Regions from separate parts of the Homo sapiens genome. Here region 2 is linked to region 1. Evidence: promoter capture Hi-C in 16 types of primary human blood cells and fetal thymus (Javierre and others, 2016). All regions are on one chromosome and are shown on one strand. Each heading gives the region's core, a stretch centred on a gene start or on the middle of the fragment in contact. The rest is flanking DNA. Distances are from core to core; before and after follow the strand shown. Region 1 holds the start of GBX2 (gastrulation brain homeobox 2). Region 2 has its middle 26 kb from the start of COPS8.

Region 1 (3,645 bases), core at 357-2,856:
GGGGTGGGGACTGGTTGAGGACTGATGGGGGGATTCACGATTCATCCTCCCCCCACCGCCACCATGAAAATGTAGTGAACCTCAATTGCTTCCTAACCGGAGTGGAGGCGTAGGGACGTGCAGATCCCAGACCATCTTTTTTGAGACAGACAACGTTGGTCAAAGGGATGTTTTGTGGCCTTATAAGTTCCCACCAGACACCCCCAACACAAACACACAGGCACAGCCTCCCAGCAGTCCGTTTCTCCCAGACAAGTAGCAAGACCAGCGAAGGGGTTTAAAAAGTCTGGGCGCCCCTGGGCACACGCACGGCTGAGACGCGCAGCCCAACCCGTCTCCCCTAGAGGCTGCAACCTACCCGGAACCCCAGGTCACCGCGGAGCGGCAGAGGCGGCCTCGGCCAAACGCATCGTCAGATAGATATGTGGCCCAGGGCAGCAGCTGGTCGCCGGGCGCTAAACGCCCCCCCTCCCGAGACCCCGCTTGTTGGGTGGCTCTGAATGTCCCCCGGAGGCCCAGCGGCACAGCCGGGCCTCATCCTCCAGCTCCTCCCGCGGGGGTCGAGCGGGGGCGCGGCCTCGCCCCCTTGGTCTCCCGCGGGAACCCGGCGCTGGCCCGCCCCCGCCTCCTCCCGCCCCCTCGTCCCGGCTGCGCGCGCCGCCGACTCACCGAGCGAAGCCTGCACCGTCTCGGCCGCGGAGAAGGCGAGCAGCGAGCCCTCTTTGGCCAGGAAGCCTTTGCCGTCCTCCGCGTCAGCCTGCAGCGCCTCCGCCTTGTCGAAGTTACCGCCGCCGGGCAGCGGCTGCGGCGCGAACTTGCGGGCCGCTGCCGCCTCCTGGTGCTGGGGCGACGCGGAGAAGCCGCCGGGGAGCGTGGCCATGAGCGTAGAGGTGAGCGCCATGCCCTGCGCCAGGCTGGAGCAGAAGCCTGTGGGCAGGCTGGGGATCTGGTGGTGAGGGTGTGCGGGCGGCAGCGCTGGCTGCAGCGCGGCCTGGGGCAGCGCGGGCGGCGGCGGCGGCGGCGGCGGCAGCACTACCGGCCGGTAGGGCATGAACATGGGGTAGCCGGTGTAGACGAAATGGCCGGGGCTGGGCTGCGGCGGGCTGCCGATCAGCGAGTCTATGCTGAAGGCGGTGCTACTCCCCAGCGGGCGCTGCATCATCATCAGCGACGGCGGGAACGCTGCGCTCATAGACGCGCTCGGTAGAGGCCAGCGAGAGGCGAAAAGTCCCCGCGCCGCGCCGCCGCCGGGAAGCCCGCCGGACGCCGGGAGCACCGCCGGGAGCGCCGGGCAGGGGCCGAGCGGGACCCGGAGAGCAGACGCCTCCGCCCCTCAGTCCTGGGCCCGCTGCATGCCGGGCGGGTGCAGGGGGTGTGCGGGGTGAGGCCGTGCGCCCCGGAGTGGAGAGGGCGCCCGGGCCCCGAGGGCTCGCCGGAGCCCCCGTCCGCCGCTTGCCCGTCGGAGCCCGCGCGCTTCGCGGGTTTGGCCCTCGGCCCCGGTAAGCTGCCGTCCGTCCGTCCGTCCCGCCGTCCGTCGCCTCCCGCGGGCCGCTGGGGAGCGCGCGAAGCCGGCGTACTTATCTCCGGCGGGCGCAGCCAGCACCTTTAAATCGCGCTCCTCTTTCTCATTCACATTTTGCCTGCCGCCTGGCCCGGCTCGCCTCACGTGGGGCTGGGCGCCTCTGGCCATTGGCTGAGCGGGGCGGGGGTGGGGCGAAAGCGGGGCCCCGCCCTTTCCACCCAAGCTGGCCTCGAGCGGGCTGCGGGCGCCACCGTCGGAGCGCGCGGGCCGGGGAGCCGGAGCCTGCATGCCTAGCCCGTGCCGCGCAAACTTGAGACGGGCGGATGGCACCTCCAAGGCTCGGACCTTGGGGCCCTGCAGCCTTGTCGAGGCCACCTCGAAGGGTAGCCTCCGGGGCCCGCACCCCCACGGCTGGGCCGGGGGCGCTTTATTTCTTTTACTGTATTTGCCATGGAACCAACCTGCCTGCGGCTCACTCCAGCGCTGGGTGCTCCGGCTGCGCCTGGGGTCCGGGCGAGGGTCCTGGAGTTGGGGGCAGGGTCCTGCCCCTCCGGAGCCACCCCCGGGGCGAAGGCTGGGAGCTGGCAGCGCCTGCCCGCCGCCAGAAACCCGCCGGGTTGCTCGCTGTAGGTCCGCGCACCGGGTGGGGCGGGGAGGCTGCTGCTTCCCCCATCCCGGGCTGGGCCCTCCCGTGAGCGATCCCGTCTCTCATTTTTCATGACATTCTTAATCATCGCACCTATTTACACACTTTGCCAGCGCGCACCAAAATAACAACCACGATAATTATGATAATAAAGAGAGTCCTTTATCTGCTCCATCCTCGGGGAGGAAGGGGGGAGTTGCTGTGCCTCCAGATTGTATAACGTGAGATTATCCTGATGAAAGCTTTATGATGTTTGCTCAAATAAAAGCTGCGTTTTGTAAATAGGCGCTAATTAAGCACGTTGCGAACGCAAGGAGTGCTCACCCTGGCGCCGCCGCCCGGTTTCCAGCGCGAGGACTCGAGGGCGCGCGGTTCCTCTTTGCTAACTGCAGGATGGAGCCGATCCCCTCAGGATGTTTCCCCTGTTCTCGACAACGGTAAAGACCCCCAAATTTGAAAGTAAGGGAATTTTGGGGTGGAGGGAAACTAGGGACGTACTTATCCCCTCTTCCATTTTCAAACAAAAAACTTTCAGCTCTTGTCTTCCCTTTAAAAATGGAATCACTTCTTGACAACGGCAGACCGTGCAGAGCGCACCAGCGCGAGCGGGGCTTCCTCGAGTCTCCAAGGCCCGGGCTTCAACTTCCCGGGTCTAGACGTCAGCCCTGAACCGCCAACAGCACCGGGTTGGGGAGAAGGAAAGAAGGGCATTGTTAGTTCGGTCATTAAAAATCAGCTCACGCCGAGGAGCTAGTGGTTGGGGAGTTGGCCCGTGTTGGACGTGTGTTATGTATCACTTACAAGCACATTTAATTGGGAGATAAAGATAAATCGATCTTTATGAATTTATCGACCCGATTCTTTGAAGCTCTTTTTTCGCGTTCTTCCTCTTTCTCTCGCTCTAGCCCCAAGGCCCCCCGGGGGACGTCTTAATCCCAGATCAGCTCCTCTGCCAGGAGTCCCGCCGGAGACCCACTGCCCACCCAGCAGACCTGGAGGAAAGAGGGGAGGGTGTGTCCTTGGCGCCCCGGGACGCTGGGAAAACTCGCTGGTCCGCCGCCAGCCCTCTCCTCCTCCTCGCCTCCTCCCTCCCTACCACCACCCGGACAAAGACGTCTCGATCGCGTTTCCCCACTCCAGGCCGCAGTAATAGATCGCTCCGGCAGCAGGCGGTTTGAAAGGAATTCATTAGGACGCTGCCTGGATTGCCTCCCCTGACTTCACGCCCAGACCCCGAGGTGGCTTAGGCAGTGTGAGGGGAAATGAATTCCCTTTGGGATCCATGGAGAAGGAGGTGTCTGTGGGATCTCCAGGCTCTATCCCTCCTTCTTCACTCCCAGAAAAGAAGAAAAAGAAAAAAAAAATCGAAGCCCAGGGCAAAAGGCTGATATCTTTATGAGCATAATAAATACTCCCCCTCATTATGAGATAGTTACAGTGACACAGCCTTGGGTGCCATTACCCTGTTTTTTGAATA
Region 2 (3,645 bases), core at 397-2,896, 940 kb after region 1:
GAAGACCTCATTGACTAAATGGAGTGTTCACTAGAGACTCCAGAAGGGCCACACCTTAGTAGTGGGGCTAAATTAGCCCTAAATTAAAGGTAAATATAGATCTTCTGTACAAAAGTTTAAAAGAGCTTCAAAACAGCTAAATCCACAAGTTACATAATTGGTTGCAACACTCTTTGAAGACATACTTCAAAATTCAGCACTCTACAACCTAACCTCACAATGCTCAACAACAAATAAAAAATTATTAGACATTATGTGAATAAGAAAAATGTTATAACTAGGAGAAAAATCACTTACTAGAAACAGACACAGAAATGAAAGGAATGATGGAAATAGCAAACAGAGATGATAAAACAGATATGATGAATATACTTTAAGTGTTTAAGGATATAAAGGAAAACATAAACACAATGAGTATAGAAATAGAAGAGATATAAAAGACCAAGGTGAAACTTTTACAGATTAAAAAAATACAAGATCTGAAATGAAAATTTCTCTGGATTGTTTTAATGTCAGAATAGACCCTACAGAAGAAAATATCAATGAATTATAAGGAACAGGATATATCTCAGAGGAAGTTTAGAGGAAAAGAAAGAATTAAAAATGAGTGGATTAATATCAAGAGGTCTAATGCAAGTGTGATTAGAGTCCCCACAAGCTAAGATGAAGTAAAGCTTTTTGAAGAATTAGCCAAAAATTTGATGAATAGTACATAATCTCACAGATCCAAGAAGTTCAATCAATGCTAACTAGAATAAACACACACATATGTTGTACAAAATACATCATAAAATTGCTGGACAACCGATAAAAATTTTTTTTAAAATTTTAAAGGAGTTGCTGTATCTTAGAGTAGGCGGAGACACATTACATAAAAAGAAAGATAAGAATTTACAGCAATGAGATAATGGAATGACATCTTTAAAGGCCTAAAAGAAAACAACTGTCAAACTAGAATTCTAAAGCCAGTAAAAATGTCCTGAAAAATTAAGGTCAAAGGAAAAAAACAACTTTTTTTTTGACAAACAAAAACTTAAAGAGTTCATCAACAAGAGATCTGCACTGAAATACATGTTAAAGGAAGTTCTTCCAACTGAAATAAAATCATATCAGATCAGATACATTTAGATCTATATGAAGGTATAAAGAACATCAGAAATAGTAAATATGTGGGTAAAATGTCTTTATTTTTTCATTGCTTTAAAAGATAGCTATTTGAAGCAAAAATAATGTAGGATTTTTAATATGTAAAGGTAAAATATATGACAACAATAGTGCAAAGAATTGAAGAGGGAAATGGATATATACTTTTGTAATGGTCTTATATAGTAAGTGGTAAAATACAGTAAAGTTAAATTATAATAAGGAAAAGATATTGAAGCCTAGCGTGAAATGTCCAATATGGTGGCCACTAGCCACAACTGACTAAATTTAAATTTTAATTAATGAAAATGAAATAAAATTAATTATTCACTTTTTCAGTGGCACCAACTACATATCAAATGCTCAGTAGTCACATGTGGCTACCATATTTGAGAGCATAAATATAGAACATTTCCATCATTACTGAAAATTCTATTGGACCTCACTGCTCTTGAATAACTACCAGTAAAGAAAACATAGATATAACAAATAAGTCCAATAGTGGATATAGATGAAATAATAATTTAAAAAACATTCCATTCAAAATAAGGCAAGAAGTGAGGGGGAAAGGAACTAAGATGAAACAAACAGAAAACAAATAGCATGATGAGAGATTTAAAACTATCATATGAATAATTACAAACGCTCTAACCAAAAAGAGGTTGTCATACTGACTAAAAATGCAAGACCCAATTATATTCTGTGTACAAGAAATCTGTTATACTTAAAAAGAGGTTACAAGTAAAATAAATGAAATTATATGTCATGGAAACACTAAACAGAAGAAATATGGAGTGGCTATGTTGATATCAGATGAAGTCAATATTGGAACAAGGAATGTTACAAAGGATAAAGAGAGACCTTTCAAAATGATAAAGTGGCCTGTTTATCAGGAAGACATAATAATCCGGAATGTATAAGCCTCCAACAACAGAGCTTCAAATATACATGAATCTAAAGCTGATAGAACTGAAAAGAGAAACCAACAAAGCCACAATTACAGTTGGATATTTTAATACTTCTTTTTCAGTAATTAACAGAACATTAGAAAATACATAAGGATATAGAGGACATGATCAACACTATTACCATGCAAACCTACTTGACACTCCACCGAACAACAGCAGAATAACACATTCACAAAGATAAACCATATGCTGGGCCACAGAGCAAGTGTCGATACATTTAAAAGGTTAGAAATCATGCATTATGTGTTCTCTGATTATAACAGGATTAAATTAGAAATCAATAGCAGAAGATATATTTTAAATCCCCAAATATTCAATAATTTTAAAATGTACTTCTAAATAACCCATGGGTGAAAGAAGAAATTACAAGGATAACGAGGAAATATTTTGAAATGAATGAAAATCAAAACAGCCATAACAAAATTTGTGGGATTAAAGCCCTACTTGGAGTGAAATTCATGTTTTAAAATGCTTATTTTATTAAAATAAAATCTAGAATCAGTTATCTAAGCTTCTATCTTAAGAACTTAGAAAAAGAAGAGCAAATTAAGCCCCAGATAAAGAAGCGAACAGAAATAAGCAACATAAAAACCTTACAATTAATAAAATCAATGAAACCAAGGCTATTTCTTTAAAAGGACACAGGACTCCTTGGAGAAATAGTTGGTTTCAGGTCTGTAAGTAGAGAACCGCTTAAAACAGCTTGTGCCAGAAAGCAAGGAGGAACTTAAAGAATTGGAAGACATACTAACAGGACACTAGAGCCAGCTTGAAAGGGGATCTGTCTGGCCAAATTAGGGACAGATTGAGCATCAAAATAAATGATAGTTAAGGATTATAACCTGTTCAATTACATAAGAATTCATTATTCCATATGGATATAAACAAATAAATAGCACTGAAGAACAGTTCCAACTAACAGATGTAGAATGAATGGACTTGTAATATCACCACTGGGAAACCATAATGATAATAATTAATACAGGAAAGGTTCATCAATGGACGTTAAACTAGTGGGTTAAAGCTTGGGAATTAAGAATATTTACAGACCCAAACTCCCTTCCCACAAGTATTTTCTAAAGAAGAATATACTAAAATTTTAGTGGATGACCCTTTTAACCAAGTTAACTTTACCAGTAATGAGTCACTTCAGCATCATGTGCTTTCTACTACAAACCACTGAAGAGAACACATCAATTCTGTGGTATCCATGTCCAAAATGTAAATCCTGAATCTAATAATGAAGAAGCATCACACAAACCCAAAATGAGGGATAATTTACAAAAACAACTATCTTGCATTCTTCAGGAATGTCAATTTCATGAAATACAAAGAAAGATTGAAAAACTATCCAGATCAAAAGAAACTAAAGAGGCACAACTCAACGCAATGCTATAACGCGCATGATTGGAAAATTAGCAAAATCAGAATTAACTCTGTAGATTAGATCAGGAGTTGGCAAACTATAGCTTGTGGGACCAAACCAGGTCAATGCTTATTTTTGCAAATGTGTTTTTGGAACACAGCCACACCC

What was found. The method cuts DNA at HindIII sites, captures the fragments that hold promoters and counts their contacts. A CHiCAGO score of 5 or more calls a contact.
Region 2: a fragment that was not itself captured here is called in contact with the fragment with the promoter of GBX2 in region 1 in 1 of 17 cell types (neutrophils); the score reaches 5.3 in neutrophils.

What each region holds. Positions count from the first base shown.
Region 1 is chr2:236,166,780-236,170,424 of GRCh38, forward strand. GBX2 (gastrulation brain homeobox 2) reads right to left here and starts at 1,607. Exons shown (of 2, transcript NM_001485.4): 1 at 670-1,607. The coding sequence starts at 1,192. It overlaps GBX2-AS1 (GBX2 and ASB18 antisense RNA 1), which reads left to right and starts at 663. Exons shown (of 2, transcript NR_186035.1): 1 at 663-890. LOC124906126 (a long non-coding RNA gene) reads left to right here and starts at 2,247. Exons shown (of 2, transcript XR_007088136.1): 1 at 2,247-2,605; 2 at 2,750-3,017. RefSeq lists an enhancer at 1-738. The HindIII fragment of the contact is 5,712 bases long and covers 1-2,408 here.
Region 2 is chr2:237,109,954-237,113,598 of GRCh38, forward strand. No RefSeq gene overlaps it. Among named protein-coding and RNA genes, the nearest start is that of COPS8, 26 kb to the left of the region's middle. The HindIII fragment of the contact is 1,948 bases long and covers 673-2,620 here.